Regions from separate parts of the Homo sapiens genome. Here regions 1 and 2 are each linked to region 3. Evidence: promoter capture Hi-C in human tissues and cell types (Jung and others, 2019). All regions are on one chromosome and are shown on one strand. Each heading gives the region's core, a stretch centred on a gene start or on the middle of the fragment in contact. The rest is flanking DNA. Distances are from core to core; before and after follow the strand shown. Region 1 has its middle 31 kb from the start of LINC01068. Region 2 overlaps NDFIP2 (Nedd4 family interacting protein 2). Region 3 holds the start of SPRY2 (sprouty RTK signaling antagonist 2).

Region 1 (4,441 bases), core at 224-2,723, 740 kb after region 3:
CACTGCGCCCAGTCCCATCGACAACCCAACGGCTGAGGAGTGCAGGCGCATGGCACGGGACTGGCAGGCAGCTCCACCTGCAGCCCCAGTGCGGGATCTACTGGGTGAAGCCAGCTGGGCTCCTGAGTCTGGTGGGGCCTTGGAGAACCTTTATGTCTAGCTCAGGGATTGTAAATACACCAATTGGCACTCTGTCTCTAGCTCAAGGTTTGTAAACACACCAATCAGCACCCTGTGTCTAGCTCAGGGTTTGTGAATGCACCCATCGACACTCTGTATCTAGCTACTCTGGTGGGGCCTTGGAGAACCTTTGTGTCAATACTCTGTAGCTAACTAATCTGGTGGGGACGTGGAGAACCTTTGTGTCTAGCTCAGGGATTGTAAACGCACCAATCAGCACCCTGTCAAAACAAACCACTGGGCTCTACCAATCAGCAGGACATGGGTGGGGCCAGATAAGAATAAGAGCAGGCTGCCCGAACCAGCAGTGGCAACTCGCTCGGGTCCCTTTCCACACTGTGGAAGTTTTGTTCTTTAGCTCTTTGCAATAAATCTCGCTGCTGCTCACTCTGTAACACTCACCGTGAAGGTCTGCAGCTTCACTCCTGAAGCCAGCGAGATCACGAGCCCACCGGGAGGAACGAACAACTCCAGTTGCGCCACCTTAAGAGCTGTAACACTCACCGCGAAGGTCTGCAGCTTCACTCCTGAGCCAGCGAGACCACGAACCCACCAGAAGGAAGAAACTCCAAACACATCTGAACATCAGAAGGAGCAAACTCCGACACGCCGCCTTTAAGAACTGTAACACTCACTGCCAGGGTCTGCGGCTTCATTCTTGAAGTCAGTGAGACCAAGAACCTACCAATTCCAGACACAATTGCTAGGCCTCAATTTTCTAATTTATAGTAGGATAATAATAGTATAGGGTTGTTAAGATACAAGGATCATATGTATAAAAAGCATTTTATAAAATATAAAACATTTTTCAAATATTATGATTGTGAAAGGAATAAGTGAAACCTTATACAACCGATAAAATTGTGTATAACAATTAGTATCACTCATTTAGAATAGACATAACTTTCCATTTGTCTGTCCTTTCTCATTTGCCTCATCTATCAGATCCCACATCCCTGTCTAAATTTTAACTCAGTTACCTTTATTTTCAACTCTACTGATATTTGTCATATAAACTCAAAACAGATGTGTCATTATGAACAAAAGTATTCCTTTTCCCAAGGACCTCTTTAGAAGAAAGCTAATAGGTACTGTTCAATCATTCATTAGGCAGATGTGTACTGAGAACCTGCCAGGTGGCAGGCACTGTGCAAGGATCTGTGGTTGAAGAAATGACCAGGACAGGACATTGGTAGAGCTTAAGTCTAGCAGAAATGTAATCAATGTTGCAACTGGAAAAGATTATTTGCAGGGACCTCACATAGTCAAGGGTTAGAAAAAATCACTTCGAGCCAAGTGAAGCTTAGCAAATTTGCCAGCCCAAACAGAGCTAGACAGGGTTGGTGCCCAGGCATGGAGAACAGCAAGGTCTGAGTGACAGAGACCACAGTTCGTTAGGGTAACTGAAAGAACTTCAGTGTACCTGGAGTGTGAGAGAGGGAAAGTGTTGAGTGAAGAGGCTAGAAAGGTCAACATTAACCATAAGCCTCAGAACCCTATCAAGGGATTTGGATTTTATCCTAAGGGCATTGGGAAGTCATTAAAAGATTTGAAACAGGAGAGTATGTAATCAGATTTCTAGGGGTTTTGTTTGTTCTGTTTCCTTTGTCTGGTTGCAATGTGGAGTATGTGTTTGGGAAAGGAATAAGGCAAGGAGACCAGATGTAATACTCCTGAGGTCAGATGTTGTGATCAGGCTTCGTATTATGATAAATGGGGTTGGAGAGACATAGAAGGGAGCAATTTTTGTAAAACATAGATCTGATCGTGTCACTCCCATAATCAAAACTCTTCAAGCCTCTCCCATTGTACTTAGGATAAAATTTCAGAATTCTTAACATGGCCTAAAGAGCTCTTTGTGTTCTGGCCCCGTTCCTCTTGCACACTCACCCTTTCTGTTCTTTATAGGTACCAAGCTCTTGGGACATGAGGAGGATCACTCATAACCTACCTAAAAACTTTGTATGAGACAAAACTGTTTGGTTCACTGCTTTATTCCAAAAGCAGTGAATGAATGAAGTGTGTGGTTTAAGACATATTTACAAAGTCAACAGAATTTGGAGGGGAGATGAACAAGGAGATGTTAAAAGATGAAACAAAGGTTCTGGCTTGAATAACTGGGTGGTTTACAAAAGAGACAGAAAAGATGGTTCAATATAGCTTATGTTGAGTTTGACATGCTGCAAGGTACGCAAGAGAAGATGTTAAATGGGCAATTGGATACAAGTATTTAACATGTACCAGATTCCGTTAGGTCCTTTCACACGTATTTTCTCACTTAATTAACTAAAGACAAATGTAGATAGAAACAATTAACTATATGACCTAATTTTTAAAAGTACTTTCTACACTAACTATGTTAATGCAGACTATGAATATCCCCATACCTATTTATCTGGGGAAATGAGCAATTTATCATGGAGAAATTTAAAAACTGTTTAAAAACTGATTTGAAACATTTCATTTATAAAGTATCCCTGTAGCACAATTATGGGAAGACTTAAAGAAACAAAAACAAGTACAAATTGTTGGGTGAATAATTTCAGTCCCATGGAGCAATTTTAGCCTGTTCTATTTATTTGCATGAGTAATCATGGGGCCCAGCTCATTTTAAATCAGCACAGTTGAGGTAAAGAAGAAAATAACCTATCAGTCCTACATCCAACAAGACTCATTACTCCATATCACTTTCTAAATCAATTTATTCAAGAGTTCCCTCTTCCTGCTTTTGGCAAAGTATTAAAAGCCAAGTCTGTGAAGTATTTCTTCTTCTTAGTTTATATAGTTTATACATTTTTGTTTCTAGATTCAACTTTATGCATTGAGGAAGCAGTTCCACTGCATCCTTCAAACCTTCCTATTCTAAGCCCATCAGCAATAGAACTAAGCTCTTGGCTCCATCATATTTTAGAACAGTGCTTCTCAAAGTGTGGTCTGTAGTCAAGCACATTGGAATCAACAGGGCTGCTTTCTTAAAACACATACTTGGGTCCTTACCCCCAGATCCACAAAGTCAGCATTTCTCAAAATGGGGAAAACTCAAGAATCTGCACTTTTAAATAGCTGCCCAGGTGACATTTATACACACTAAAGTTTGAAAATTTGGATAATTCAAAACCACGTAAGGTAGCTAATTCTCATTACACACCTTGCCATCAATAATAGCTATGAGCTACCTTCTCACAGAAGTAATATACCAGAACAATAAATACATTAAATGAAGATTTGAATTCAAGTAAAAACAAGAGGCTGCTCGAACACTCTGAATCAGACTCCATGAGAGAAGTTTTAAAAAGCTTTTATTTACCAACTGGTGCCACTACAGTAATTGCTGGAAAACTGAGTTACAAGTATTTTACATGGAACTACTAAATACCAGATTAGTATTCACTGATTACAAAAAAAAATAAGCTAATTGAACGTAAACGTAACCAAAGGGGGATGCTTTACATTTAAGATGTCTTGTTGAGAATAGGGAAGACACATGTTACAAAATGATTCCTAGGTTATGAGGTTTTAATTTTTAGATTTTGTTGTTGATTTTGTTTGTTTGCCTTTCTGCAAGTGCCTTTCAGTGAAGTTTCCTAAAACGTACGGCAGAATTGATTCACTGAATTTAACTCAGTTATTGCCCACAAACCTTTATTCAATGTCTTTATTGTTACTCATAGAAAAATTGTGTGTATAATATATACAATTTTTTAATACTCCATCCAAAATAGGGATATTACAGTTTGGTTAAAACTTTTGTTTTCCAAGACAAATAAATACTGTTATTTGAAAGATGCTAGGAAAATGGAAGTATATGAGACTAGATTTCTGCTTAAGTGTCTAGTCTGTACTTTTTAAATTTGTAAAAGAGAAGGAAAAATCATTTCTGTGAACATTTTTATTCACAAAACTGCAGTCTTTTTTATTCAGATACTAAAAGGTTAATTTTAAGTGCTTTTCTTTTGCAAAATGAGTAGAAAATTCCATTATCCATCAATTAAACATAGGTAAGAAGTAACAGACAGTGAACAGAAGAGAGATACATATTATGCATGCAAGGAAAATTAAAACTTGGGATATTGAGGGGGGGTGCGCTTTGATGTACAAAAGAACCATTGTTAATGTGGGACAAAACCTCCCCAGTATGGAACAGAGATAAAAAGGAGGGAGTTTCTAGCAGATCAAGGTCAACAGAGATATGTGAATAACATAAATGCTATTAATCTAGTACCGAATGAATCACAGGAGTTCAGCAGGGTATGGTTATGTG
Region 2 (4,951 bases), core at 2,372-4,871, 810 kb after region 3:
TAAGATTCTGGGGGACTCTTGGGAAGGCATGGTTGTATTTTGAAATGTGAGAAGGACATGAGATCTGGGAGAGGCCAGGGACAGAATTATATGGTTCGATCTGTGTCCCCATCCAAATCTCATATTCAACTGTAATCCTCAACTGTTGGAGATTGGGCCTGGTAGGAGGTGATCGGATCATGGGGGTGGTTTCTAATGGTTTCACATCATTTTCCTGGGCGCTGTTCTCATGAGAGTGAGTGAGTGCATTATTGTTTTTTCTGAGATCTGGTTGTTTAAAAGTGTGTGGCATCACCCCTTCACTCTCTCTCTTCCTCCTGCTCCAGCCATGTAAAATGGGCCTGCTTCCCCCTCACCTTCCGCCACAATCGTAAGTTTCCTGGGGCCTCCCCAGAAGCTGCTATGCTTCCTATACAGTCTGCAGAACTGTAAGTCAATTAAACCTCTTTTCTTTATAAATTCCCCAGTCTTGGGTATTTCTTTATAGCAGTGTGAAAATGGACTAATACGGTACACATCATCTCAGTTGAGTGTGAATAACTCAATTTTGTGAGGCCAAGTCTGAGAAGCTAGGGCTCTGCTCAATATCACATAATTAGGAGGGTCAAAGTGGAACTTGAATCCAGGACACTGATGTTGTTTCCACACAATCATGGTAGTCTCACTAAGCATACTGCTATCCTGAAATAAAAAAACTTTCAAAACCATTTTATATTGCTTATTATTCGGGCACAAAGATCCCTTAAATTGTGCAATCATATATCATAGGTAAACTCAATATACTAAATTTAATGACTGGCCATGACTAAGTGCATATTTATAAAATTTTAAATAATTTCAAATTAATTCAAGAAATAAACATTAAAGCACAGTAAGAACAAAAAATTGTCAGTGTGATGGCAAAAATATATTTCATACTGTGTATTTTAAAACATCAGTCCAGGCCAGGTACAGTGGCTCATGCCTGTAATCCCAGCACTTTGGGAGGCCGAGGTGGGTGGATCACTTGAAGTCAGGAGTTCAAGACTAGCCTGACCAACATGGCGAAACCCATCTCTACTAAAAATACAAAAACAAATTAACCAGATGTGGTGGCGTGCTCCTGTAGTCCCAGCTACTCAAGAGGCTAAGGCAGGAGAATCATTTGAACTGGGGAGGCGGAGGTTGCACTGAACTGAGATTGCACTACTGCATTCCAGCCTAGGAGACAGAGTGAGACTGCGCCTCAAAAACAAAACAACCACCACCAAAAAATCAATACAGAAATTTTATCAAAAGTCATCATTTAGGAAAAAAAAAAAAATTAAGACAAGATCTCACTCTCACCCAGGCTGGAGTGCAGTGGCACAATCATGGCTCACTGCAGTCTTCATCCGGGATCACTACAGCCTCAATCTCCTGGGCTCAAGTGATCTTCCCACTTCAGCCTTCCAAGTTGCTGGAACTACAGGTGCATGCCACCACACCTAGCTGATTTTTTTTTTTCTTTTTAGTGGAAATAAGGTCTCGCTGTGTTGCCCAGGCTGGTCTCAAACTCCTGAGCTCAAGCAACCTGCTTGCCTCAGCCTCCCAAAGTGCTGAGATTACAGGAGTGAGTCACTGCAATATGCCCAAAGATGTCTTTTATAATATTAATAGAAAAAATCGAAACACAAACATTTGAAAATAATTGTTCACTCTAGAGGAATGGCCACTAAGTTTCAATAGCATATTGATTACAGGGAATTTAACTATTAAGTAACAGGGAAATATTTATATAAGATGTTTAAAAAATAAAATGGTATCTAGGCAATAATTTCAACTACATTAAACATTAATTTGTGAATCCTGAAATTGGTAAAGACATCAAAATATTTTAAAATAGAGAGCTGTAACAGAACACCTGTGGTGTTTTCCTCTTTCTATTTTCCCACATTGGCTAACACAAAGAAAGCATTCATTAACTTAATCAACTGTCATTGACTAAACAACAAAAATGTGCCTGATAAATAACTAGGTACTGGGAATGTAAATGCAAGATCTCTGTCCTGGTGTTGCTCATGATTTATCTAGTCAAAAGACAAGTTACTGCAACAATTTAAAACAAGTTACAAAAAAAGAGCCCTACCCATTATAAGATGAAATGAGTCTACCTGAAGAACAAGCCATGTTCTAAACATCTTATAAAATTAATAGTTTGGAATTAGCATTTTTCATAGAAATATTAACAATGAGTTGTCATTTTCAGAAATCTACTTAACCATTCCATAACATACGTGCAATTCTACACATCAGAAATAGGAAATAGTAAAAACAGTAGTTTTAAAGTCTCTTGACTATCTATATTCTCCCAGTGAGAGTTGATTTAGGAAACAAGCTTTCAACTCACCCAGCTGAGACTCATTTACAACTGAATGTACTCAAATGCTAATTTGATGAGACTTTTTTTCAATTTTTAAATTTTGTTTGTAATTGACAAAAACTGTATATATTTATGATGTATTACATGATGTTTTAAAATGTGTATACATTGTGGAGTGGCTAAATTGAGCTAATTACCATGTACAGTACCTCAAATATTTTTTTTGTGCAAGAACGCTTAAAATCTACTCTCCTAGCAATTTTCAAGCATTGACCAATTTTTCATCTCAATCAGGTAATGGAGACTCATATGCAAACATTCATACTCTGCACAAAGAGGGTGCTGAAGCACCGGGTTAGGAAGCACTGGTAAATTTATAAGATTTTTTACAAGACCTAAGTTAGTCTCTTGTACACAATTCTATTAATACTTTGCTGTCTATGAAATTTTCCACAATGCTCACAAGCTGGGGTTACAATGATATCAGAAGCAGGTAAAAACAGGGAGCTTTTCTTTATGGACATGTTCCAATTCTGGCTGAGGATTACATTTACTTTCTAAAACAGGGTGCTGGAAATGATGACAATGAGGGAATGGAACAGTAATACTTCAGACTTTTCTCTTCAAAAGGGGTAAAATCAACTTTTCTCAAAGCACACTTACCAAGACTTAATGCTTCCTACCTTGTCTTTAGAATTCTATCCTATTGTATGGAAGTTAGGGCAGTAAATGATCTACGGTCCATAATACTTCTTAAGGTCTCTGGGCAAACACCCCCTGAGAAAAGGAGTTATTGGGACTTTCATAGCTAGAGAGGAATCAATCTACTTCACTGAGAGATGTGCATGTTCATTTACAAATATATGTGTTCTAAGTAACCGAGAACTTATTTAGACAAAAATACCCTATTTAGATCTATCCTCCTCCTCTGTGATGTTCCCCTCAAAGCAACAAAAATTCTTATTGACTCAGCTATATTATGCCACTGTGTTAAGAGACTTACTTTCCTCCTCTGTGAAGGAAAAGGCATAAAAAATAAATTCGGAGTTTACTGTCTTTATCTACCTTCATAACTGTGTCCAAAGCTATTTATGTTGACGTTTAACCCTGTGTGTGCTGGAAGAGGGTAGTAGGAGCAGGCATAAATAGGGTTATTGCTGATCAAAGAAACACATTCAGGGCACATGCTCTTCTCTCAGAGGATCTGCTTGCTGGGCTCTGACCTCATAGCAGCTAGAGGAGAATGCCATACATGGAAGCACATCTCTCTCCCTTGACTCCTCACCTAATTCTAGCTTTCCTGGGTGAATTGATTTTTTTGTCTTTTTCCCGAACAAAATGGGGTGAATCCAGGGATCTGAAACGGCATCTCTCAAGTCTGAAGCAAGAAAAAAAAGGCAAAAAATTCTAGCCCTCCTTGCAGCCACACTAAAATGTAAATAATTTCTGCCTCTTACCTGGCTGCAGAATAGTAGATGTGTATGTATCTCACTGACTCTCCATTACTGAGACAGCCACTCCATTTACCAGAGCAAAGAGTAATACACATGTATCTCATTAACTCCATTACTAAAACATGTAGATGAGGAAGACAGAATGCTTGATCATCATTCCAAAATTCTAGAGTAGAATGTTATCAAAAAAAAAAAAAAAAAAAAAAACAGCTGACAAAAATAATTTGAAGGCCTTGTAACATTTCTCTGTGTTTTTTGGCTACCTTGAGTTCTTTCACAGTCACTAAACTGGCTATGCTAATATAGAAACATAAATAGAAAAAAAGATGATTCACAATTAAAATGATAGGCCATGGAATTCAAACTATGTAAGAAGATAAATAAGTACATGGACAGCAAAGAGGTCAGTGGACTTGAGGTCCAGGCAAAGAGAAGAACTTTCCAAGTGGTGGTAACCAGAGTGAGTGAGTTAGGATGCGAAGTGAAGGCTAACACATGAGGGGCCTGAAATCAAAATTTAGGAAGGGATAAGCGGGGAAGAGCAATAGAAAAGAGGAAGTCAAGGGATAAAGAAGGTGAATTTAACTAGGAGAATGCCAATTTCAACAAAAAGTGACCACACACATAAGCAACAGTAGAACAAATACAGTAACCCTTCAACAATACACGGGTTAGGGACACCGACCCACCTGCATGCGGTAGAAAATTTGAGTATAACTCTGACTTCCCCAAAACTTAACGACTCACAGCCTATTGTTAACTAGAAGCCTTACTGATAACATAAACAGTCGATAATACATAAACTACTATTTACATGTATTTTATACATTCATTACAGGCCTTTTCTTAATTTTTTTGATATTTCTAGGCTATGCAATTTGTCCCAAGTTTTTTCAAATTGCTGCAGATCTCCAAAATATTTTTCCAATATATTTATTTAAAACAATCTGCATACAAGTAGACCTGTGCAGTTTAAACCCATAATGCTCAAAAAAAATCTACATACACACTTACACACAAAGAACTGTTTTTAGTATTACTAAATGTATATATCAATTAACGAAAATAATTTTATCAAAAGAAATGATGAAATTTTCTTACTCTTTGAGATGTTTCTGCTGCTGCAGCTGCCATTGCAGCAGCTTTAGCCTTCTCA
Region 3 (4,552 bases), core at 140-2,639:
TAAGTCGCTCGACAGAATGCAATATTAGGCGTGTGTATGCGCAAGTTTTAATTTTCCACTGGTGCTCCCACGTGAAGGCACATTTCTTAGTAAATGAACGGCAGCTAGGACAGTGCATATGTATGCATTTTCTATCTTTATTTTTTTTTTGTAAATGGGAAAGAATAGTGCACCTTCAACATGGACAACAGAATCTTGAGAAATGTTCTAGGTGGCAAGAAAAGTGGGAAATGAAGGATGACTTTTAGTTAAGGGAAGAAGGAAATCTGCAGTGAGCCAACCCTTCCCTCCCCCCCGCCCCCCCATTTCGGAAGCCCATGCTGTCGCCCTGAGTAATCTTGTTCCTGTCTATTAATGAATTAAGTTAAAAGGCTTAGACTGTAGACTTTAGCTACTGCATGAAGCAAAATAGTAAGGAAGCTCTTCAAAAAGCCTCCATTCATAGATAACCCCCCTTAAAAATGAAATTCTAATAAACGGAAAAACTACAAGTCGACACAATCAAAAGCAAATCCCAGCAAGAGCAGAAGGTACTTGAAACTCGAATCTGCATTCCGTTCCTCCCGTACAAGGCTCGGAGGTGGGGGAGGCGGTTTGTGCTGGTGCCTGGTGTATAATCGGGTTAATCCAGTAGACAAAGAATAAACCAATAGCCCTCCCACCTCACTTCCCGCTCCCCTTCCCCTCCCCCTTCTTCTCCCCCCGCCCCAGCCCCCGTCACCCGCTCCGCAAAGGGGAACAGAAAAGGGGAGAGGTAGACTTGAAATGGATTCTGGATAAAGTCTTAAAACCTGCAACTTGTTTTTCATGCTAACACTGCGTGGCCCAGATTAGTCTTAAATGTTCATTCCCCTTTCCTGGTGGCAAGGAGAAAGTTCCCTAAGTCAGCTCGAGCCTCTGGCTCGTCCTCATTGCCTCTGGGCAAACCTTAAGGTCAGTGTTTCCTTGAAACTAGATAAACTGACCCTGCAGTGCCCAGCCCGGCCCCGCGGGCGCCCCGCGTGACGGCGCTCGGGCGGCAGGACCGGCCTGGGGACGCGCGGGGCGGCGCGGTTGCCCTTTTGAATGCCTCCTGCGGCTCGGAGCGCTGGCGGGCGCTGGAGTGTGAGTGAATGTAGCCCCGCGGAGCCAATGAGCTGGGACCGGATGCGATATATCCTCTGGGACAACAACTGCTCTGTTCCGCCTCGGATCCACATGACGCCATTTACTGCTGCCGCGGCCGCCGCAGAGCTCCCTGCCTCCTCCGGAAAGGCGAGGGCGCAGGCCAACGGCGAGCCCCCCCCGGGCGGGCCCCAGACCCTCCTCCTCCTCCTCCTCCTCCTCTTCCTCCTCCTCCGCACCCACCGCCCCCGCCTCGGCCTCGCTGCCTCGCCTCCACAACGCCCAGTCTGCACCGCCGAGAGCTGCGCGCCGCAGCGCTAGCGGAGGAGAGGGGCCGGCGGAGCGCGCAGCGCCCAGGCCCCCGCGCCCGCCCGGCCCGGCCCGGCCCGCGCCCCCGCGCCGCCTCCGCTACGACGCGGCCCCGGCCGCACCACTTGGCGATCTGGCTTTAGGTTCTCCGTAAGGCCGTTTTCTTTTCCCATTCGCTCATCTGCCAGGAAAAGGGACTTGCCGTTGGCGCTTCGGCCTCTTGTTCATTGAGAAAAAAGAGGAAATACTCCGCGTGCGCTTGTAGAAGGGGAGTCGTCTCCAGCTCCGAACCCCGGAGTGTTCATCAGCGGGGAATCTGGCTCCGAATTCTCTTTTTTTCTCCCGCCGATTGCTCGGAAGTTGGTCTAAAGCAGAGGTTGGAAAGAAAGGAAAAAAGTTTGCATCGAGACTGGATTTATTTGCACATCGCAGAAAGAAGAGAATCCAAGGGAGAGGGGTTGGTGCAAAGCCGCGATCACGGTGAGGCACGTTTGGCTCTTCCCCTCCTGGCGCCGCGGCCGGCGCGTTGTGGGCAACATGGAGTAGGTGCAGCCGGACCAGGAGTTGGGTCCGTCTCTCCCCGAGCCTCCCTTTCTCAAATCCCGCAGGGTCTTCGCGAGGATCCGGGGCGCTCCCCGCGGACCTGCCTCGCCCGGGGCTTGGGCTCGGCCTGCCTCTGCGGGGACTTCTGTATGCACCCCGTGCAGTGTCCCCGACAGGCGACCCCGCGCGCCCGCGCTCTAGGGGGTTGGGACGGAGGACAGCTAGCCTGAAGTCTGCTCCCAGCCGTGCACTGGCCGCGAATTCGGCGCTGAGAGCGGGAGAGGGAGAGAAAAACACTTTGTATTTTCCAGGTTGCCTTTGCAGGCGCCCGCATTTCTAACCTGTTCTTCCTCTTGGTGGAAGGCAAAGTCCAGGGAGAGGCTGTCCCTAGGCGGGGCGCTGGTGGGGCTGGGGGACACAGGTTGCCCGCCTCGGGGGCAGGAGACTTCCAGGGTGAGAAAAAGGCAGGGTGCCGGGTGGAGGGAGTGCCCGCCTCTGCTCCGTGTGGACAGTCTAGCCCGGAGCGGGTGGGAGCGTCGCCCTGCCTGGCGCCGGGTCTCTGCGGTTCGGAAGTGCAGCTCTCTCTCTTCCGTTCTTCGTGGTCAGCCTGGGTCACACTTATTTTATTTTTGGAAGCTCGGGCTGACCCAGCGCAGGAAGAAAGTCATCAAGCGGTCGCGATCATTTTCCATTACCTGAAAGTAGGTGGCAAAATAGGCAATTTTTTATTTCCTTTTGTTGTTGTTGTTGCTGTGTTTTAATTTGGATTCTTGTGTGTTTTTTACAAAGCAGTTTCTGTGTCCGTTTGCCCCACCCTAGAGCTGAAGTTCTTTTCCCCTAATCCTCAGTCTGATCACACACTGTTCTTAATGGGGGTTTCAAAGCACTTTCAAAGGGGAGGGGGGACTGGGAAAGAGAAGAGGGGCGGAGGTAGGGAGTCCAGCTTTGAAGAAGGAGGCCAGGGATCGGATCGGCAGAAATCACTTAAAAAATAAAAACAAAAAAGCCCCCTTTTATTTCAAAGATGCTACTTTGACTGCAAGCAAATCTGCACCGAAAGTTTACAGCTCCGGGAGCTGGGTCCTGCGCGCCCGGAGTGAGCAGTGGGACCCTGGAAAATGCCCTTTTTTTAAAAAGCCATTTTTCTTTCACTTTAAGAAATATGATATCTTTTTTTTTTCTCTCGACCCAAAAGGAGATAGGCGTGTGCAGATTACAGGCAATGCCCCCTTCGGTCAGTGCAGCGTGGAGTCGCCGTGTGTGCGTGGGTTGGACTTGTGCGTCCTGGCTGCGTGTCTCAGGCAGGGCTTTCGTGCTCGCAGTGTCGGGGTGGGAAACCTGTGCCGGATGTCCGAGGGGCTTTGCAGAAAGCCTGGCAGTGGGCGGCGTGACCTCTGCCTGGGGGCGGAGTGGCTCCTTGGGGCTGGAAGGCAGTTCTCTTGAGTTGGGGGAGATCTTAGCTGGGGAGAGGGAGGCGGGGGAAGTGTGCTCCTGCATTTCGTGACACGTACCCTTCGGAGGCGCCCGCGGCCCCCGCCTGTCTGAGTCTGGGGATCGTAAGCAGGGGGGCAGCCTGGCCCATGGACAGCGTCAGTCCGCCTGGAGAAACTCCCCTGGGGATCGGCTGTGTCCCACCTGCTGGGGACGGTGTTGGGGCACAGAGAGGCGATAAACTAAGTGAAAGCAAAGAGCAGCGTTGTCTTCTGCCATTCTTTTGGAGGTGAGGAGATCCGGTTTCCAGCACTGCCTTGCTCCGAATTGGGAGACGTTTGTCACCTGCCTTGTTCGCTGTGGCCTCTATTCTAAAGAGCGGAGATCGGATAAAGGTCCACTTTTGCCTGTTTTATACTTTTTATTGTCATATAGGCTTGGGAAAGGGGGTGATCGTTTTGAAATTGAAGAAGGACTGCAGTTTAAGGAATTCCTTGACAGAATGCTAGATACGAAATGTGACATTTGAATTTTTAAAACGCTTTTCTGGTTATTATCACTTCGTTTGTGTTCTCAATTAGCAGGGAGAACAACCTTTTAGCTGCAGAATCTAAGGTGGTGTTCTAGGCTATCAGACTGTAAAATAGTTAATTCTTAAGTTGTTGAGAAGTTGAAAATAAATTCATGTCTTCTTCTTGTTAAGTTTGCTTTAATGTGTTTCTGGCACCTAATAGGATTTGATTTGCTTTTAGTTCTATAACTTTGTGCTACTATACAATTAATAAAAAATGGCATGATTGTTGTAGAATTTGGGTATTTACTTTTTTGCATGCCATATTCATTCTACCTGGTTTGAAAAAGTTACAGAATGCCGTATACGTCACAGTTAAAGTGTTTGATGTAAAAGTAAAAATTAAGAACCAAGAAAGAATCTTCTAGGTTGCATTATTAACGCTTAAGGCAAAAATGACTATGACAAATGGAAACCTATTTCAAATTTTGAAAGGATTTTCAACTTTTGAAAACATTGGTAGCAGTGTTATATTCCAGCAATACTTCCTTGCGATTTTTACGTTGAACCTGAACCTTACAAATTGTATGTTTCTTTGAATAAGGAATTCTTACTTAAGTGACTCAAAGATCAGTTTTGTATTGTTGTACATCA

The links. The method cuts DNA at HindIII sites, captures the fragments that hold promoters and counts their contacts. A contact is called where the count stands out against the background at its distance.
Region 1: a fragment that was not itself captured here is called in contact with the fragment with the promoter of SPRY2 in region 3 in 1 of the 25 tissues and cell types used here (dorsolateral prefrontal cortex).
Region 2: a contact is called between a fragment that was not itself captured here and the fragment with the promoter of SPRY2 in region 3, in 1 of the 25 tissues and cell types used here (lymphoblastoid cells).

What each region holds. Positions count from the first base shown.
Region 1 is chr13:79,595,760-79,600,200 of GRCh38, reverse strand. No RefSeq gene overlaps it. Among named protein-coding and RNA genes, the nearest start is that of LINC01068, 31 kb to the right of the region's middle. The HindIII fragment of the contact is 7,169 bases long and covers 1-4,441 here.
Region 2 is chr13:79,533,402-79,538,352 of GRCh38, reverse strand. NDFIP2 (Nedd4 family interacting protein 2) reads right to left here. Exons shown (of 8, transcript NM_019080.3): 3 at 4,897-4,951. Among named protein-coding and RNA genes, the nearest start is that of LINC01068, 31 kb to the left of the region's middle. The HindIII fragment of the contact is 7,080 bases long and covers 82-4,951 here.
Region 3 is chr13:80,337,963-80,342,514 of GRCh38, reverse strand. It overlaps SPRY2 (sprouty RTK signaling antagonist 2), which reads left to right and starts at 1,389. Exons shown (of 2, transcript NM_005842.4): 1 at 1,389-1,893. RefSeq lists silencers at 972-1,021, 1,252-1,441 and an enhancer at 3,536-3,585. The HindIII fragment of the contact is 11,668 bases long and covers 1-4,552 here.